Regions from separate parts of the Homo sapiens genome. Here all the other regions are linked to region 5. The links are contacts of gene promoters, found by promoter capture Hi-C in blood cells and fetal thymus (Javierre and others, 2016). All regions are on one chromosome and are shown on one strand. The core of a region is centred on a gene start or on the middle of the fragment in contact, and the rest is flanking DNA. Distances in the headings are between cores, read along the strand shown.

Region 1 (3,039 bases), core at 460-2,959, 1.4 Mb before region 5:
ATACGCATCATGTATCATTAAAAAATGTATTTCATTTAACTCAATATATTCAAAACATCATTTAATTTGTAATCAATATAAAATTGAGATAGTTTACATTTTTTTCAAGTTAATTCTTCACTCCTGGTGTTTTTCACCCTTCAGCACATGTCAACTTGGTCTAGCCACATTTTAGGTACTCAATAGCACATGTGAATAGTGGCTACCCCATTGGACTGCAGTTTTAGATTCTGATTTCCAAAGTTCCACATATTTCTCACTGTGAGAGGCCTATAAATGATACAATGTGCTCTATTCTGCCTTAAAGAGTGGCAGTAACATGGCAGGGCACTTGTCCAGCTGCAAAATCAATGGTATGAGACTCCATTCCATCAGCTACAACATTCGGCTCTATTCCCAGAAACATACATCAAACTGATTAGACTGGATTTTGTCTTTGAAACAGATTAGTGTGGAGCTGTCCTGGAGATGGAGATGTCAACGGAGGATGATTCTGAGACAACTGGCCCCTTGCAGTGCAGATAAACTCCATTAGGGGGCCTTCTAGTCATGGTGGCATAATCCTGGATTGTGATTAATGACAATTTTGTAACAAAATATTGCCATCAGAACTTTCCAGTTTATGAATACGAGGTAAATTTTGGAAAGACAATCTTTTCTAGTACAAAATAAAAGTAAGCCTTTCGAACACATCTCTGGCTGTTCACAGAATGTGAGCATGGCTTTCGTCTCAAGAGGAAAAGTTACCCCTGGTTTTAGCTTGAAAATCAGCTGAGTAGGCCCAGGCCCACAGTGATCTGGTCCACTCACCTCCCTGCTCCAGAGGCAGTCTCCACTTTCTCTAGATCCCCATTTAGTTATGCAGACACCTTCTGTTCCATTCCTTTCTTCAAAGTAGAGTACTTGAGATCATGAAGGAAAGAAAGCTTACTCCTCGGCTTTAAAGAGCTTAGAATGCACATGACCACTCCCCTCCTCCATTAGAAAATTATGGCAATTGCCTGATTACTAACTTGCCAGTTGGCTCTTTGCTCTTAGGAAGCTCAGAGACAACTTGGCTGGAGCCTACAGCATGAGATCTAACAGTTAGGTTTTTTATTCTTGCCCTCTACTTGCTGAGCTTTTATCTGCTTCTAATTATTGTTGCTTGATATTTGTTATAAACCATGCTAAATTATTTTGGGAATGTGGTGGTGGGGGGGTAAAACTAGATTTTTTTTTTCAGTTTGCCCTAATAATTTAATCTTTCACATATTGACCCAGACATGAAATGAAATTATTCCTTACAACAGAAGTCAACCAGAGAACATTCTATTAAAACTGGCTCCGACTTACGTACTGAAATGAGTCACACTGTGAAAGCTCCAGAAAGGTAGGAACTGTCTCTATCACAGGACTTGACACAACACAACAGCAAATATTTGCCAAATTACACAATTAAGTATGTAAGGCTTAAGGACCTTCAAAAAGACACATATTTTAGTCTGGAATATTCACTTGAACTACAAAGATTTGGCTACTTTTAGGAAACAGAATCTATTTGTATCCAAGTGCTCAGGAACACCATGGAGTAAGACAAAATGGGATATGGCCATTCTCGAAATCAAATTGTGACTCAATCTACATGAACTGACATGTCAATGCCACAGTTGTTACACTGGGTCTTATTTACGTCACTATCTGGGGAGGTTTTGTGACCAGAGTTCTTAAATAAGATTTCCTATTTTCAATGAAATCATAACCACTAGCATAAAAATTCTATTTCCAATCACAATTTCTTTTATAGTCATAATTAAAGATTCACATGCCCAAGTTCCTCACTTGGAAGCCCTCTTTGAAAACTTTCAACTCCAGGTTTGCTTCTCTTCATGGCACTTGAGCACAAAAGGATGGTAGTTTAACAGTCCATTCCTGCTTTTAGCTCTGCTAAACACGTAGACAGGCAATGTACTAAGGTAAGCAAGTTGATTCTGCAGAACTGTGGTACTGACTGCAACCACTCATCCCATTTTCCTGGGTGATGCTATGTTTAACAGAGGTTCTATATTGGACAACTCTGCATTGCTAGGCTATAGGGTAAGGGGATTTGGTAGTGGGGGAGTGGCAGGGAAGGTATGAAACCTAGAATCCTAAGGGACATCTGAAGAACTCTGCTCATACGGGCAAGATGGCCTAACTCTGTTCATGTCAGAAAATGCTCTTGGTCACCAGGGCAGGGCTCAACAGGCCCTGTGGTTAGACCTATTACATACAGAAAAGAAGAATGACTCACAACCCATACTTGAATCTATCCCTCTTCTAAGAAGCACCCTTCATTACTCCAAGGAAATGAGGACAAGGAATGCAGACTGGCTTTTTAGCCAGCTTTTCAGAGTCAACCACGTAGTTTATGCAGCATCACCCCGTTTCAACCCAAGACCAATTACTCAGCCTCCTTTCATTTTTCAAATTTCTTGGTTAGCCAGTATTTACCAAGGACATCCTAAGCTTTCCTGAAATGGAAAACAGCCAATATGGAAAGTAATGCTGCAGGGAAGCCACAGTAGTATTCGGAATGGCGCACGGCAACATTTTCCATATCCCACTTTCTGCCATCTCATGCCCACAACAATGGATACATCAGAGGTGAGATTTAAAATGCTGCTGTGGATACAGCATTGTTGTTGCCATCCAGAAGGGGAATTTTTGCAGCACTGATGAGCGTGCCAATACACAACTGCCGTCTGGTCCTGCTTCTTGGGTATTTATTGTGTGCATGAGTCACTTCCGTGACTTATGTCCCAAGAGTGATTTTGATGTATTTTTGATTTTCCAACTTGGCAGTTCATGTAGATAGTGACCCCAAACCATCTTGCCATAGATTTCACTGGAAACACCACTGAAATGCCAAGGAGGGTTAAGTTTTTAAAGTCATGTTTATTGAAGTATGATTTTACATTCAGCAAAATTCATCCTGTTAAGGTTTGACAAACGCACAGTCATACCATAATCAAGATGCAGAACTGTAGAATCACACTAACAATTCCTTCCTGCCCTTGT
Region 2 (3,170 bases), core at 652-3,151, 1.7 Mb before region 5:
CTCACGGGCACTGATAGTCTAGTGGAAATTAGTGGCCAAGCACTTACTTGGCAGAAGTTGCCCAGTGAGATATTTTCCAGCTGTGCTTGGAGCCTTGCACAAAGAAGGTAATCAGTCATCAATACTCAAGTTTGCCAGATGGACATGAAAAAGGGACAGAGGGTCAAGAAAACTGGGACACTGGAGAGACAGTGGAGTGACAATAGCTTCTAAGCTGGACAGACAGAAAAAGAAAACAGAAAACAGTAAAGTACAGGAAAAAGAATAAGAAGGTCTGGATGACTGGAATTGTCAATGAAAGTTAAGAGAATTAAATGAGACAAAGCATGTAAAACACTCTGCAGAGTGGCTGGAACAGTTATAAGTGCTCAAGAAGTCTTATTAATATCAAGGGTTTAACACTGAAGGTTTAGATTATTCACAAGAGAACCTAAAGATAATGACATGTAGTAATTTACAGTCAGACAGATGAGAATACAGAAGCAAAGTCATTTTAGCCGGAAGGTGAGCCCAGTTAACTGCCCAGTATCTAATTGTGAAATCAGCTTTGTAGTTCTCTCACATAACTCTCAATAAGGACTTTAACATAAGCTTTCAAGTTCCAGTTATGCTTTAATTCATTTAATGTGGAGAAACTATAAACTATGGTGGTACTCAGGAAGGTCTTAAAACATCTTCCTCCAATGTTAAGAGACTCCTGGACTTCATTAACACAAAAGAAGAGTATGGCAACAGCAATGTGCATGTGCAATAGTGACTGTGACCCAGACCTGCCTTGTAAAGCCTCTATTTTACATATCAGGTAATAACATTAATCTAAGCAAAAAGTTAAAGAAATAAATGAAAAGGTACTCAATCCAATTAAATAAGATGCTCCTATACACCCAGTTAGAATGGCTAAAGTGATAAGACTGACAACATCAAGTGATGGCAGGGATGCGGAGCAAAAACCTCTCTCACACACAACTGGCAGAAGCGTAACATGGTACAATCACTTTGGAAAACTACACGACGATATCTTTTAAAGCTGAAGGTGGTATAGCTTATGACTCAAAAATTCCTGTTTGGTATTTCCCAACACAAATATTAATACATACATATGCATACCAAAAGGCATGTACAAAGTGTACAAAAATGTTCAAAGTAGTACTAGTCTTAATAGTTCCAAACTAGAAATAACCCAAATGTTCATAATGATAGAATGGATAAATTGTGCTATATTCATTCAATGGGATACTATATACCACAAGGATGAAGTAGCGCTACACACAGCACAGATGAATCTCACAAACAATGTTGGCTTTAAGAAAACAAAACACAAGAGTTTATGCCATATGATTACATTTATATAAGTTCAAACACAGGAAAAACCCACTTTTTGCCGATGTGCTGCAGACTTTCATGAATGCACCACACACCAAAGACAGAACAAAGAGCTCCTCTTAATAACAGGGGTGCATAGTGCCCTTAGAAGATGGCATGGCATGGTATTTATCAATGGTTGCTTCTGCTCTAACTTCGATGGTTACAGAGTTAGAATAGTTGTTACTACTGTGGGGTTGGTGACTGAGAAGGGCATAAGGGGGGACCTCTGGTGTACTGGTCATGTTCTCGTCTTGTTGGTGGGATGTGCACTTTGTAATAATTGAGCTATACATTTATGATTTGTGCCCTCTTATATGTATCCCATACTTCACTGGAGAGTTTACTTAGAAACAAAAGGCTAGAAATGACAAAAACAATGTAGGAAAAGGCTTTAGAAGAAGCCGAGGCTGCTGGCTCTGCAGAATCCCCTTTTGCCTCTATGTATAGAATCGGCCACTATACTACAGAGAGATGGAATGACCCAAATCATGTTATCTAAAATAACAAAATGAAATAATGAGAGAGCAGGATTGGAACTGAGGTATGCTAATCTCACAATGTTCTCAAATTCTTGAAGGAATGTTTCTGGATGTTTACAGAGGGGTCCTTGTCATCTAGGCACTCATTATCCTGATCCTTAAAGCAATGAGATTGTAAAGGGATGTAAAAGTAGTCATAACACAAAAATATTTACTAAAGAACAAGAGCACTTATAAAGTTGGTCCTCACTCAAACATTCCTACTCTGGCTCAGACCAGCCACTGTTTCTGCCAATTCCCATCAACTGCCCTTGTCAGTCATTCTCGGTCAATTGTTTCCTGTGTTATGATGTTAAACAGGACAATACAATATAACCATAATGTAAATCAATTGCGAAGTGAAACTGCACATCTTGCAAAAGATGCATGATTCCATGAAGTTGATAAAAGTGCTATTGGAGAACTGTTTGAATCACATGCCAAACCACTGACAACAGGAGAACCTGGCAGATTAAGGTCAGTTAATCATTGTGGAGGGGACCCCTGGTTGTTCACCAGGTAACCATTTTTTCCTTCCTACTCAGTAACAGAACCCTGATTTTTCAGTAATTGTACTTCTATTGTAACGGTAAATAAGTGATGTTAATATACTCCAAAGCTAAGAAATGTGAGTCACTTTTTAAATCCAAAGAGCTAAACGGACAGTCTCAGATAATCCTCTGCTCCTCAAGTAAATATTTGCTGCTGCAATCCAGTTTCACCCTATTTAGGGATTAAGGCAATGCTTTACAATGCTATGATCCACGAATGAAAACATATATTCGAGGGAGTGGGAGGGAACCTAATGAGTCTTCAACGAGTTTAAGCCCTGGTTAACTATGTTCAACTACCATTACAGGCAGGCAATAGCTAAATGCACCAGCAATTTGAAGTCTGTGGTATTGTAGATACAAAAAGGTTTACATGAAAGGAACATGAATTTGAAAATAGATACATGAAAGTCAGTTACATAAATTAACGAATTCAGGCATTCACAGTACTTCAGCACAAAGGCCAGGCCAGGAAAGATTTAAAAGCATTCCCACAGACTGCACTGGTGCACTGTAGCAGGAGCTGGTGAACAAAGACAAAATCCCAGCAGTCAGCGTTTGCTTATAGAAACCAGAAGTTAATATCTTCATAAAAATCTTAAATTCCTCTACTGTTGCCCATATTCCCAGCAGAACCACCAGACAAAGCAAACTAGGTTTTGCAGTTACACATAACTCACATCCTGCTTTGTCCCCTTGAAACAGGATCCCAGTCAACAAAACCCAAACATTCCCA
Region 3 (3,126 bases), core at 561-3,060, 1.8 Mb before region 5:
ACACAAAGTGGAAAAAGCGTAATTACCCCTAGGAAGGCACTCTACTATTATAGAAAGATGATATATTTTTAAGTGAAATAAAATCTAGGGTAATACACAGCAAAAGAGTGGCTATCTATGAGTGATAGAATTGTGGGTGATTTTTCTTCTTTTTGCTACTCTGATTTAAAAATAATGCATTATTTCTTTTTTTAAAGAAAATATTGTATTGTGAAAAGATGTTACAAAAAAAGAGAAACAACAAAGATTGTAGGTGAAAAAACATAAGCAAATGGATAGTAATTTTCCTGAAAACTTTCACTTACAGAAGTTTCTTTTCATCTTTCTGCTCATCAGGACTAAGTGAAGCAAATGGGTTCTCAGACAATCCAAAGCCTTCCTTCCTGTTAGTTGAAGCTCCAGAATCAAAAGAACTGAAATATGGCTTTTCTTGATCTCTGCTGCCCCCCCATGGTGTGGATTTGGAGAAACTGGATGGCTGGATGACATTGGAATATCTCTGGCTAGTTGTATTCCATCCACGTCTATTATTACCTAAAATAAACAATAAAACAAAATAATTTTACTAGCAACTTTTCTTTCTATTTTCTTTTTAATTGAGATAGGGTCTCACTCTTTTGCCCAGGGTGGAGTACAGTGGCATGATCTTGGCTCACTGTAACCTCAACCTCCTAAGCTCAATCGATCCTCCCACCTCAGCCTCCTGAGTAGCTGGGACCACAGGCGCAAACCACCATGTCTGGCTAATTTTTGTACTTTTTGTAGAGATAAGGTCTTGCCATATTGCCCGGGGTTGGTCTCAAACTCCTGGGCTCAAGAGATCCACCTGCCTCAGCCTCCCAAAGTGCTGGAATTATAGGCATGAGCTACTGTGCCCAGCAACTGTTCTTTAAAATCTCAAAAATCTTCATTATATCTTAGTATGTCTAGACAATATAGAAAGATTCAACAAGCACTACATTTAAACTCATTTTAAATGACAATCTCTTCATTTTTTATTTATATACAGTAGTTAGGTTGTAATATCAACAAATCACATAGTGGCCAATTGCATTTTTGTTTGAGATTGAGAAGAAAATAATATAGAAAAATAGTGATATATTACTAAATTCAGCTGACAAAGCTTATTAAATGAACAACTGCTTGATAGTTAAAAGTTGACAGAAGGCATGCATCATAAATCATAAACTCCTTCAGGATAAAAACTTGGGTTTTTATCATTCTTTGCTCCCCCACCAGGCCCTATACTGTAGTAAAGGCTGAAAAATGGACATTGAATTAAAGTTTCTCGAATATGAAAGATTACATTCTACCCTCTGTTTTTGTACAGATGCTTAAGTCTATTTGACGCAGTCTTTTCTCTGGGCAAACACCTACACACCTATTTTCACAGAGAGATTATACATGGTATTTACATGTGTACAGAATGCATGTAGTTCCTCTACCAGCTTTCCAATATTTCATAAATATCAAAATGAGCCAAAAAGATTCTCTCCTCTCTTTATATATTGGTTTTGTTTTGTTTTTTAAAATCATTTTAGCAATCTCATTTACTCATCACTTCCTAGTTGGGGCCAAGATTAAGGTAATTCATCTTGTTTCTGACTGAATAAAGAGATAAGCCATTAATTATATTAAAAGTTAGAATGACACACATGCCCAGTTGTGAAAGTTCATCCTGCAACTCTAAACTACCCTAAAAAAAAAAAAAAAAAAAGTGGAGATTGCTAGACCAGATCCCTCAAGTAGAAGTTAATGGTATCTTCTTCTTCTAAAGTTCCAAATTCACTGGGGGATGATACAACTGAAGAAACTCACTTCCTCCTTTTTTTTTTTTTTTTTTTTTTTTACATTGCTTTTGGTCTTCATACTTATAATTCCAGAAACATTCATTTGTTTCTGGGAGCTAAATACAATTTGTCTGCCAAATTTTGTTTACACTCACATTCATCAGACATGAGTCCTAATTTTCGGTCTGAAATATTTCACTAGATTAATTGTGGAGGAAATAAAAGGACTGTCTTCCCTGAAGTGGGATCAGACGTGAAACCATCACGCAATACAAGGTTTAAAGGTTAGATGAGGCCCGCCGCGGTCGCTCACGCCTGTAATCCCAGCACTTTGAAAGACGGAAGCGGGAGTATCACCTTAGGTCACGAGTTCGAGACCGGTATGGCCAAAATGGCAAAACCCTGTCTCTACTAAAAATACAAAAATTATCAAGGGCATGGTGGCGGGCACCCGTAATCCCAGCTACTCGGGAGACTGAGGCATAAGAATCGCTTGAGCCTGGGAGGCGGAGGTCGCAGTGAGCCGCCTGACTGAGAGAGCAAGACTCCGTCTCAAAATAAAATAAAAAAATAAAGGTCAGATGAATAGCCCTAAAGGAGGGGAAGGAAGGGAGACAGCACCGAATTATTAACCCGATCTTTAAAAATCTTGTGTTGTTCTAAGGTTTCATGTCTAATCTCTCCTTTCCTTGAAGATAAAAAGCTTTGACAATGATCTAGGCCCAGGGACTAGATCAACGTGGCCCCCGCATCTCCTTTCCTCACCTCCCGGATAGCCCTTAACTGGGCGTCCCACATTCCCAATTTCACCCCAAATTTATGAGCAGGTGCATTTTTGCGGTATGGCTCTATAGGTTTTATTAGATTTTCTTTTTTTCTTTTCTTTCTTTCTTTTTTTTTTTTTGATAGTCTCGCTCTGTCGCCCAGGCTGGAGTGCAGTGGCACGATCTCGGCCCACTGCAACCTCCACCTCCCGGGTTCAAGCGATTCTCCTGTCTCAGCCTCATGAGTAGCTGGGATTACAGGCGCGCGCCACCACGCCCGGCTATTTTTTTTTTTTTTTTTTTTTTTGGTATTTTTAGTAAAGACGGTGTTTCACTATGTTGGTCAGGCTGGTCTCAAACTCCTGACCTCGTGATCCGCCCGCCTCGGCCTCCCAAAGTGCTGGGATTACAGGCGTGAGCCACCGCCCGGCCGGTTTTATTAGATTTTTTCAAAGAAGTCCACGACTTCTCCAAAATGAAGTCCTGATTCTGACCCAAGCTGCTAGCCTCACCCTCGAAAAAACAACTTAGTAAAAATTATATTCAATTCCGGCATTTACCTACAAGGTAGT
Region 4 (3,012 bases), core at 448-2,947, 1.9 Mb before region 5:
GAAAAGAAAGCATCCTACCATTTTCACAACGTAGAAGGCCATGGCATGTAAGTGTCGGGTAGAAGTTCCACTAACAATCACAAAGTAATCTGTATATCTCATTTCTGGAGGAACCTGGATCACACAAATGTCTCTTGCATTTTCTTGCCTCAGAAGTGAAACCATCATATCGATGTCAAACTTGGGACCAGTATGATCTGAAATGCACAAATAGTTGTTTGTATCAGGATGGCCAAGCAGATAGACGTGTATGCACCCAGAGATGCCGGCAGCTGACTGTTCCTCCATGAGGGTGTTTAGATCCAAAGTGTTTTTACAGATAGCAGGGTAAAGGCCTCCTGGAAGGTGAACCTGGGCAGTAGTATCATAGCACCGCTCAACTTTTATGGTCAGGGTGCTCAGATTACGCAGAGCCACTATACATCCTTCGCTATTAACCATATGCAAGTAGAACCAGACACCAGTGACAAATGACTTTCTACTAATACTTAAAAGGAGCAATACACCACAATCACAGAAATGCTGTGCAAAGAAAAACAGCACCACAAAATGGGTAGGAGGTGATATCCTGGAGCATATTAAATTGAATCTCAGTCATAACGGGTCACAGAATTGTGAGCTGGAAGGGCTCTTAGGCAGTATCTGGTCCACAACCTTCAGTTGAGAGATGAAGAAACTGAGGCCTAGGAGAATTACTGTGGCCTAAGATCAGTCACTGAAAGAGCTACATTTTTGAGTAATTATTATTTTGAACCTTCCAGTTTTCATATAAAACCACCGGGTTATTAACAACTGTTACCTATGAAAATCTAATTTTTTTTCCCGTAAAGATTTAGATATTCTGATCTTCAGCTTGGAGTATTACAGGCTGTAAATTTAAAAGCTCGCCCAAGTTCTAAAGCCGACTCCAAAGGACCTAGTAGCTAAGCCCACTAAGGCCTCTCCCTCTCATACTCTACATTCTTAGATGTGATCTGTTTACCATTCTTAAGTTTCTAAAAACGTCAGCAATAACTAGAGGATATTAACTTGGACCCATCTCCTACTGGCGCTTCCTACGCACCCCTTCGCACCCAGACCCTGGCTCCTCAGAATCCTCAAGCCCCAACAGTCCCCACAAACCCATTTCCCAGGATCCTAGGAAGAGGGTAAAAGGAAGTGAGGACGGTGAGACTGTGATGCCAAGGGTGGGAGATGGCCGTCCGGGAGGCTGGGATTCTGCAGTTCATCTCTTGCCCTCAATTTCTTCACTGTGAAACGGGAAGGTTGGCGCCAACAACCTTTGAAGTCCCTTCCAGCTCTGGATGTGCAGGAGTTTTGTGACTCCAAGAGAAATGCACATAGAGGGGAACCCAGAGCCACCTTGGCTGGGACCTGACTCCAGACTGCCCGGAGAGGGTCGCCTTCGTTCTTCTCCACGCCCGTACCTGCCGCGTCCGATTCTGGGCGTCCCTCGTTGACCGTCCCCTCCGCCCGCTCCTCCAGCCCAGGCTCGCTGTGCAGGCCGCGGACAAAGTTTGGGGTCTGGCAAGCCCGGCAGAACGCTGCTCCTACGGGAAGCCGCTGCACGGCCAGCAGCCGAAGCCCGGGCTCGGCTCCAACCGCGGACCCCGCCACCGAGGAAACCGCCCTGCGCCACATTAGTGGGGCGAGCAGCCGCGCCACACGGCCGCCCGGCCCCATAGCAGCAGCCTTGCGTCGGCGTCGCGGGTGGGTGGTACTTCATGGAGCCCGGCCGGGAAATTCTACGTCGATGCGTGGGCGGAGTCAAGGCCTGAAGGACGGACCATGGGCGGAGTCTGGAGCCCGTGAAGACTGCAGTGACCCGGAAGAGCTACTTGGGGATTAGGGCGTGCGGGAATAAAGAACTAGTGTTGCTTGCCCACCTTGCTTTGCTTTGTGTCGCAGTAGCGCATTACGTTGTCACTTTTTTTTTGGACTCTGTCCACTAATGTGAGGCTCATGAAGGCAATAATTTTTGTTTCATTTTTAACTCTTCTCTCCACAGCACCTAAAACAGTTCCTGGTACTGAATGTCCAGAAGTTGCTGTTAATCTGATTAGGCTGGGATTAGGACATATAATCTACCCTCTCTCATTACCAGAAAATATTCAAGATTCCCTTGCAAATTTGAAATTGCGCGAGGAAAATCTGTTATCCTGGGCTAGAGTGGGGTGGGAGGCAGAGGTGTAAAGGACCATTTGGAAACCGTTCTTAGGTCAGCCCATCATCTACACTCCCTGTATGGAGGAGTTTACGCCCAGGGGCGGTACTGTGGGGACCAGCTCTGTAAGAATAAGGAATTCTGAGGTGCCAGCTGCGGTATTAAGTCACAGGACTTGAGAACTGCGATAGATTCCTGGCACGGGTGGGGGGGTGGGGGGTTTTGGGGGCGTGGGACGCCGCAGGGAAGCAACTTGCCCAGGTCATACACTTACTGACTGCGTCAGAATCAGAAGCCAGTTTCTGGCTTCTGAACTCCAGGCCTGCTAACTGCTGAAAGGAAGGCTTCATAGAGAGCAAATATTTCAAATGCCTGAAACAGTGCCAGACACATAGCAGGCACTCCAAAAATGTTTGCTACATTATTTTAAATAATTCCAAGCACTAATTTTGGGAAGTTTTTTAAAAATAGAGAAATTAAGCATTTGTGTATATCACACCAGATATGTACAACCACTTCAAGTTATTTTTGAAAAGAAGAAAAACATTACAGATTAAGTTTCCTCTGTCCAATTTTAGCCCCATCCTCAATTCCATTTTTCCACAGGCATGAACTTGGCTTTTCTCCCAGCTTCTGGCATCCATTCCGTGTTCCCACCCTTCTCTGAACATCCCAGACCTGCTTTACCACCTGTATTTGCCAGCTCATTTAATGGGTCATTATCCCTTCAAAACTCCCAAACCCTAGACTTCATTCAGTCCAGGATCTTCATACAACAAACGAATCTGTTGTCAAAATCCTGCTTATGTGACCTCCAAAATGTTTCTGTGAGTTCAGCTTCTTGTCTT
Region 5 (2,895 bases), core at 332-2,831:
TTGGTACTGTACACTACCACTTGGATTTTGTACTTGTATGACTTGAAATTGACCAGGGGTGGAAGAATTACCTGATTTAGTTTTTGTAGGAGATGCACTCCCGTTATTACTGCTGGAAGAACTAGACGAACTAGAGGCTGGTTGAGAAACGTTATTCTCTTTTGAAGCAGGAGGAGTGGAGGCAACAAGTTGCCAAGCGTTTCCAGCAAGTTGCGTTGTTACCAGTTCTAGCTGTTGTGGTTGATTTTGAAGTTGCACCAATCCTTGACTTGGATCTATAATAATTTGTTGTTGTCCAGTTGCTTGATTTTCACCAGGAGTCCCTATTTTGCTGCAAGTAGCTGCCAGTAAAGCCAGAGGAGAGGGCTGAGAGTCCTACCCAAAATGGGACGGTAAAGGAGAGGGGGGGGGGAAAAAAAGTGGGCGGATTTAGTGGAGGCCAGTAGTTGCCAGGGGGTTACTTATTTTGACAGCTCTACATAACAATTTAGGAAGCAGCAGAAATCAAAAAGAAATACGAACAAAAGTAGATAAGAACTATATGAATAAGGAAGCAAGTCCTATAATATCAAGTTTAAATAAAAGGAAATTTCTTTACAACTTTGTAAAGTGTTATGTTCCTAAACTCAAAATGCCCTTGGGAACACACACACCGTTTTCTTATAGTCTGAATTCCTGATGTAATTTTAAACAGCGTTATACCCTCAAAGAGGTGAAAACTTGATGAATTTACAATTTAAGTTCCACACTCTCAGAAAGATGCTTTGAGTGGATAAACATTTTATTCTGTTACTTCTGGACATTCAAAGGGCATAACTCCCTCTCTCTCCTAATGTGTCGTGATGAATTTTTTTAATTTGTTTGCTTTTACCTGGGAGCCTGAGGTTTTGGGTTTTTTATTGTTATTCTCTGGCTCAGAGGTTTTCCCTCCTTCTGTAGCCATCGCCGCTGCCGCTGCCGCCTCCTCCTCCTCCTCCTTCTTCTGATCTGCAACAAACCCCCCCACCACACACACACGACAACAGGTTATTAGGATTATTATTATTCGTCTTCTTCCTCTCCTCTTCTCCCCCCTCCCCCCGAACATTAATCTCCATAAACCCGCGATCCACGCACACCGGCAGGGGGTGGGGGAGAAGGAGGGAAGGGAGGAGGGGGATATCACAAAACGTGGTTTGAAACCCGACCCATCGGCTCCAGAGCAACACCCAGAAGGAGGTTGTTCTCTCTCAGACATTAAGACAAAACACAACCCTCCTTCCCTCCCCGATTCCCTCCCGCCCTCTCCTCCTCCCCTTAAAGCATCTCAGCGGCCCCGGGGGAGGGGGGAGAACCGAGCAGGGTCTGGGGAGGGAGGGAGAGAGGGAGGCGGCGAAGGAGACTGAGGGGGGTGGAGAATACGTACCGCTCATCCCGCATTAACAGGACAAACCCTCAGACGGAGACACTGGGATAGAGGTGGGTGGGGGTGGGGGCGAGGCGGGAGGAGAGGCCGGTCCCGCCCGCCCGCGGTGGCTCGGAGGAGGCTGTAGCTGGCACAGGCTCTGCCTCTTTTTCCGCGAATGGCCGCCGCTGGGCTGTGGCGTAGCAGCTCCTCTCTCCGCCCGAGCCCGGCTGACTCGCCCTTGATTGACAGCGGCGGCGCGCGGCGCGGGCGGCGGCGCGGGTCGGGGGCGGGGCCAGGGCGGTGCGAGCCTGGCCGACTCCCCACCCCCCTCGGCCTCTCTCCGCCGGAGCCTCCGACTCTCCACCCCTTCCCCCAGCGGATTGGCCGCCGACCTGCCGGGGGCCGGGGCGCTGGGGCCGCCTCCTCTCCACCCCCTTTCTCGGGGTTATTCCTTTAGCAGCTCTTCTCCTCCTCCCTGGCTCCTCTGGCGCTCTTTCTCTCGGCGTTCTAGCTCAGGAGCGCTGCCGGTAGGCCCTCCATACAGCCAAACTTGTTGTCTCAGGATATCCCGCCCCCTACTCATTTCCCAGCGCCCTCCACTCAAAAACCCCCTCCAGCAATCCCTCCAATTGCCACTAAAGAAAAAAGTAGGGCCCTTGATCCAGGCAAGCGAGAGCGGCGGACGTGGGCGCGCGCGGACCACCAACAGGTCGGCGCGCTGGGTGAACTGCCCGCTGCCCCCGCGCAGGGAGCATGGCTTTCCTGAGGCGCATCCGGACCCGGGCGCCCTTTTTCCCTGGCTCTGTCTCCATTGGCTGAGCCCAGGGTGACGCGCGCTGAGTGGTGGGAGAAAGGGGGTGGGGCACTACCGCGAAGGCTGTCGGTACTCGTAGTTTCCGGCGGTCGCGGTGCCTTCTTCGAGGCACCGCCTCTCTCCCGCCCCCGACCGAGGCCTGGCTGCCGAGCGGAAAGCTGCCCGAGGGGGCGGTGGCGGCAGGGCGTGGCCGGGGCCGAGTGGGAGTTGAACTGAGCGAGGAGGAGGGGGAATGGGTGTTGTTTGCCTGGGCCTATCCGCCGCGCGGGGCTGCCCAAACCACCTCTGCCGCCGCCTCCTCGGCTCCAAGCCGCTCCCCGCGGGGCGAGCTCACACCCGGAGCGCTCGGCGATTGAGCGGGCGGCGGCGTGGGGAGGCGGGGTTTGCTGTCCTCGGGGTTTGAATGAACCCGGCTTCTTGAAGCAGCGCCCTCGCCTTGCCTTTCTTTGCTCACCTTCCCCTCAGGCCCCCTGCTTTGAGTCCGAGGCCTGTTTTCTCACGGAGAAGGATCTTCCATTTTTATTTGTTGTCTCTCTGGCTGGCAGCTGGTGCAGAGCAGTGACCCGCCTTCTAAGAAGGGTTGCATCGCGTTTTGCCTAAAAGCCTAAGTGGTTGGCGGAGTTCTAAGCCTTATCTGACAAGAGTCTCCGGGCGAAGAAAAGCCCAGCTCCATAAGGGTCAGCCCCGCTTACGG
Region 6 (2,937 bases), core at 422-2,921, 1.6 Mb before region 5:
GAAAGAGAGTGGGTGTTCATGTCAGGTCACCTCTTGAGGTTGGCTGCCCTTGGGTTATACAGTTCATGAAGGGGGTTGTATGGTATAGATCATGGCTCAGGTTGCTGCCTCAGCTGGGTCCACTGGCTGGGGTAGTTCCCTTAAAAAGGGAATCTGATATAGCAAGCCCTTGAATGACCTCTCAGGCACACTCTTTTTGTTTTGACTTCATTTCTTTGATTTTCTTTTTTCTTAAAGAATGTTTAACATACCACAAAAGCAACATTTTGACATATTTTTCATGTTTTTTTAAACAAAATTCTTTTTAATTTAAAATAATCATGTTATCTATTTTAACCATTTTAACAACAGTTGTTGTCCAATTGACTTTAATAGAAATATATAATATTTGAACTAGGCCGGGCATGGTGGCTCATACCTATAATCATAGCACTGTGGGAGGCCAAAGTGGGCAGATCACTTGAGGCCAAGAGTTCGAGACCAGCCTGGCCAACATGGTGAAACCATGTTTCTACCAAAAAAATACAAAAATTAACCAGGCACGGTGGCACACACCTGTAGCCCCAGCAAGTCAGGAGGCTAAGGTACGAGAATCGCTTGAACCCAGGAGGTGGAGGTTGCAGTGAGCTAAGATGGTGCCACTGCACTCCAGCCTGGGTGACAGAATCAGACTCTGTCTCAAAAACAAAACGAAACAAAGAAAGGAAAAGAAAAAGAAAAAAAGAGAAAGATATTTGAACTAAATTTTTCTTAAAATTCCTGAAATTTAATGTCATAGGGAAAATGTTTATGTTTATAATGTTCAACTGGCACTTTTATACAGTTATTTGCAAGAAGATAAATGCATTTTAATAGTTACTTTAGAATTATGCGTGTGGATATCAGAGACTAGCAAAGATGAGCAGGAAAGATCTGGAATATGTTGACTTTTATAAAGTAGGTTAAAAGCATTTTCCTTTTGAAACAGAATGTTCTCTTAGGCATTTTTTCTGGTGCTTTGCGATTAAAATATAAACGGCTATGTGTAAAACTTAACTGCAGACTGTTATTGTTGGAAATTATTTTTATATGCACAAATTGTGATGGAAAGGAGAGTAGACTGGAAACATAAATTTGTGCTTTCGTTTTACTCTGACTTAGAGGGAAGACAACTTAAATTGCCTTCTATACTACCTTACCACTGCAAAATGGGAAGTGAAGTCAGGCAGTAAACTGCTTCCTGTCTTCTTGCAGGAAGGAAACAAATTATATATAAATATACATAGCCAAACTTCAGTTTCTCTCCACTCAATCTATCCTATGCACGGCACTGATTTGGCACTAGTAACATGTTATATTATTTCCCTTTTGTCAACCTTGGGTGTATATTAGAACCACTTGGGAAGCTTTTTTAAAAACCCAATGACTAGCCTCACACACCAATTTATTTATTTATTTACTGTGGGGTGCGGTTTGAGTACTGATAATTTTGAAAGGCATCCTAAGTGATTCTAATGAGCAGACAGGAAGCCACAAGGCAAAAGGAGAAAATCTGAACAACTGAGCTTGCCTTCAAGGTGTTCTATTATCTATCTGCAACCTAGCTTGCCAGGCTTGGCTGACTCAAGTTGCCTCCCATGCCCTCTGAACATTGCTTGTGCTTCCCCTCTTGTGTTATTTCTCCAGGCATTCTGGGAGTTACTTTCTCACCATTTTATCTGGTTCAAATTCCTCCCCAGTTTTCTAGACCCAGCCCATTTTGCCTTTTTCATGAAGCCTTCCCTGACTGCCCTTGACTGCAGTGCTTGCATCCTCCTCTGAAAACACAGCGGCTAATGCCTAGAAAATCATTTGAACAATGAATCGATTATGTACTGCCTTATGTAATCTCTCCACTGCTGCATTAAATAATTACTTTAATCTTTGCTTAACCTTTCATCTGTTTGTTATGCAGCTAACTATACTATAAGCAAGCTTCTAGCATTCATCTGTATCCTTGACAAGCCACGTGCCTTGTACAGTACAGGAAGTCAATAATATTTACCTGTCCCTTCCATCCTGACTTCCACAGGTTTGGTTCGAGATTCTCTCCTGGAATCTTGTCCTGGTCTTGGCTGGGCTTCCTGCCACCAGAAACTTTGGCTCTTCAAATCAGGTCAACACATTACTGGCACACATGGCCAATGGCCAGTAAAACTGATGGTGTGTGTGTGTGTGTGTGTGTGTGTGTGCATGCGCGTAGGTGTGCACTCTTTTGCCCACTCTTGTTTCTCTCTATCTTATGATCTGGCTGACTCGGTTTCTTTCCTTCCTTGGTCCCTCACTCTCCTACTCAATGGGACTTGACGGCAGAATTCAACGTCTCAGGTTTTGACTGCTTGTGTTCTCTAAGATGAATAACATGCTGCCTGGATCTTCCTCTCCCTATTTCTTTGAGTAAACACTTGTCCTGAACAGGCTCTGGCCAAGGGGACCTAAATTAAGTCAGTCTGATCTGTCAAGAATTTCCTCTCTACCCTGTTTTTTTTTCTTTGGATTCTCACCATTTAAAAGAAACCTGATTGCATTGTCCACATGATTAAAAGCTGTTGTCTGTCCCTCATTGCCTTAAGAAGAAAATCTAAACCTGAGCTATCCAATATGGGAGTTGTTAAAGTTAAAATTAAAAATTAATGCCAGACATGGTGGTTCACACCTGTAATCCCAGCACTTTGGGAGGCTGAGGTGGGTGGAGCACCTGAGGTCAGGAGTTCGAGACCAGCCTGGCCAACATGGTGAACCCCTGTCTCTACAAAAAATACAAAAATTAGCTGGGTGTGGTGGTGAGTTCATGTAACCCCAGCTACTCAGGAGGCTGAGGCAGGAGAATTGCTTGAACCTGGGAAGTGGAAGTGCAGTGAGGTAAGATCCCACCACTGTACTCCAGCCTGGGTGACAGAGGGAGACTCTGCCAAAAAA

What was found. The method cuts DNA at HindIII sites, captures the fragments that hold promoters and counts their contacts. A CHiCAGO score of 5 or more calls a contact.
Region 1: a contact is called between a fragment that was not itself captured here and the fragment with the promoter of SP4 in region 5, in 1 of 17 cell types (naive CD8 T cells). The highest score is 5.6, in naive CD8 T cells.
Region 2: a contact is called between a fragment that was not itself captured here and the fragment with the promoter of SP4 in region 5, in 3 of 17 cell types (total CD4 T cells, naive CD8 T cells and non-activated CD4 T cells). The highest score is 6.4, in total CD4 T cells.
Region 3: a fragment that was not itself captured here is called in contact with the fragment with the promoter of SP4 in region 5 in 1 of 17 cell types (naive CD8 T cells); the score reaches 6.1 in naive CD8 T cells.
Region 4: a contact is called between the fragment with the promoter of MALSU1 here and the fragment with the promoter of SP4 in region 5, in 2 of 17 cell types (total B cells and neutrophils). The highest score is 8.0, in total B cells.
Region 6: a contact is called between a fragment that was not itself captured here and the fragment with the promoter of SP4 in region 5, in 2 of 17 cell types (total CD4 T cells and naive CD8 T cells). The highest score is 6.5, in total CD4 T cells.

What each region holds. Positions count from the first base shown.
Region 1 is chr7:22,858,410-22,861,448 of GRCh38, reverse strand. It overlaps SNHG26 (small nucleolar RNA host gene 26), which reads right to left. Exons shown (of 5, transcript NR_146320.1): 4 at 811-902; 5 at 13-563. Among named protein-coding and RNA genes, the nearest start is that of SNORD93, 3.3 kb to the right of the region's middle. RefSeq lists an enhancer at 1,740-2,939. The HindIII fragment of the contact is 1,561 bases long and covers 929-2,489 here.
Region 2 is chr7:23,106,953-23,110,122 of GRCh38, reverse strand. The region is part of intron 1 of KLHL7 (kelch like family member 7); the gene reads right to left. Among named protein-coding and RNA genes, the nearest start is that of KLHL7, 2.8 kb to the right of the region's middle. The HindIII fragment of the contact is 2,615 bases long and covers 594-3,170 here.
Region 3 is chr7:23,182,478-23,185,603 of GRCh38, reverse strand. NUP42 (nucleoporin 42) reads right to left here. Exons shown (of 7, transcript NM_007342.3): 2 at 306-534. Among named protein-coding and RNA genes, the nearest start is that of NUP42, 2.0 kb to the right of the region's middle. The HindIII fragment of the contact is 1,370 bases long and covers 1,126-2,495 here.
Region 4 is chr7:23,298,024-23,301,035 of GRCh38, reverse strand. It overlaps MALSU1 (mitochondrial assembly of ribosomal large subunit 1), which reads right to left and starts at 1,697. Exons shown (of 4, transcript NM_138446.2): 1 at 1,428-1,697; 2 at 19-197. The coding sequence starts at 1,683. RefSeq lists an enhancer at 1,391-1,880. The HindIII fragment of the contact is 9,022 bases long and covers 1-3,012 here.
Region 5 is chr7:21,426,769-21,429,663 of GRCh38, reverse strand. It overlaps SP4 (Sp4 transcription factor), which reads right to left and starts at 1,581. Exons shown (of 6, transcript NM_003112.5): 1 at 1,406-1,581; 2 at 872-987; 3 at 1-375. The coding sequence starts at 1,412. RefSeq lists silencers at 1,288-1,877, 2,258-2,647. The HindIII fragment of the contact is 8,073 bases long and covers 1-2,895 here.
Region 6 is chr7:23,015,773-23,018,709 of GRCh38, reverse strand. No RefSeq gene overlaps it. Among named protein-coding and RNA genes, the nearest start is that of HYCC1, 3.1 kb to the right of the region's middle. The HindIII fragment of the contact is 568 bases long and covers 1,388-1,955 here.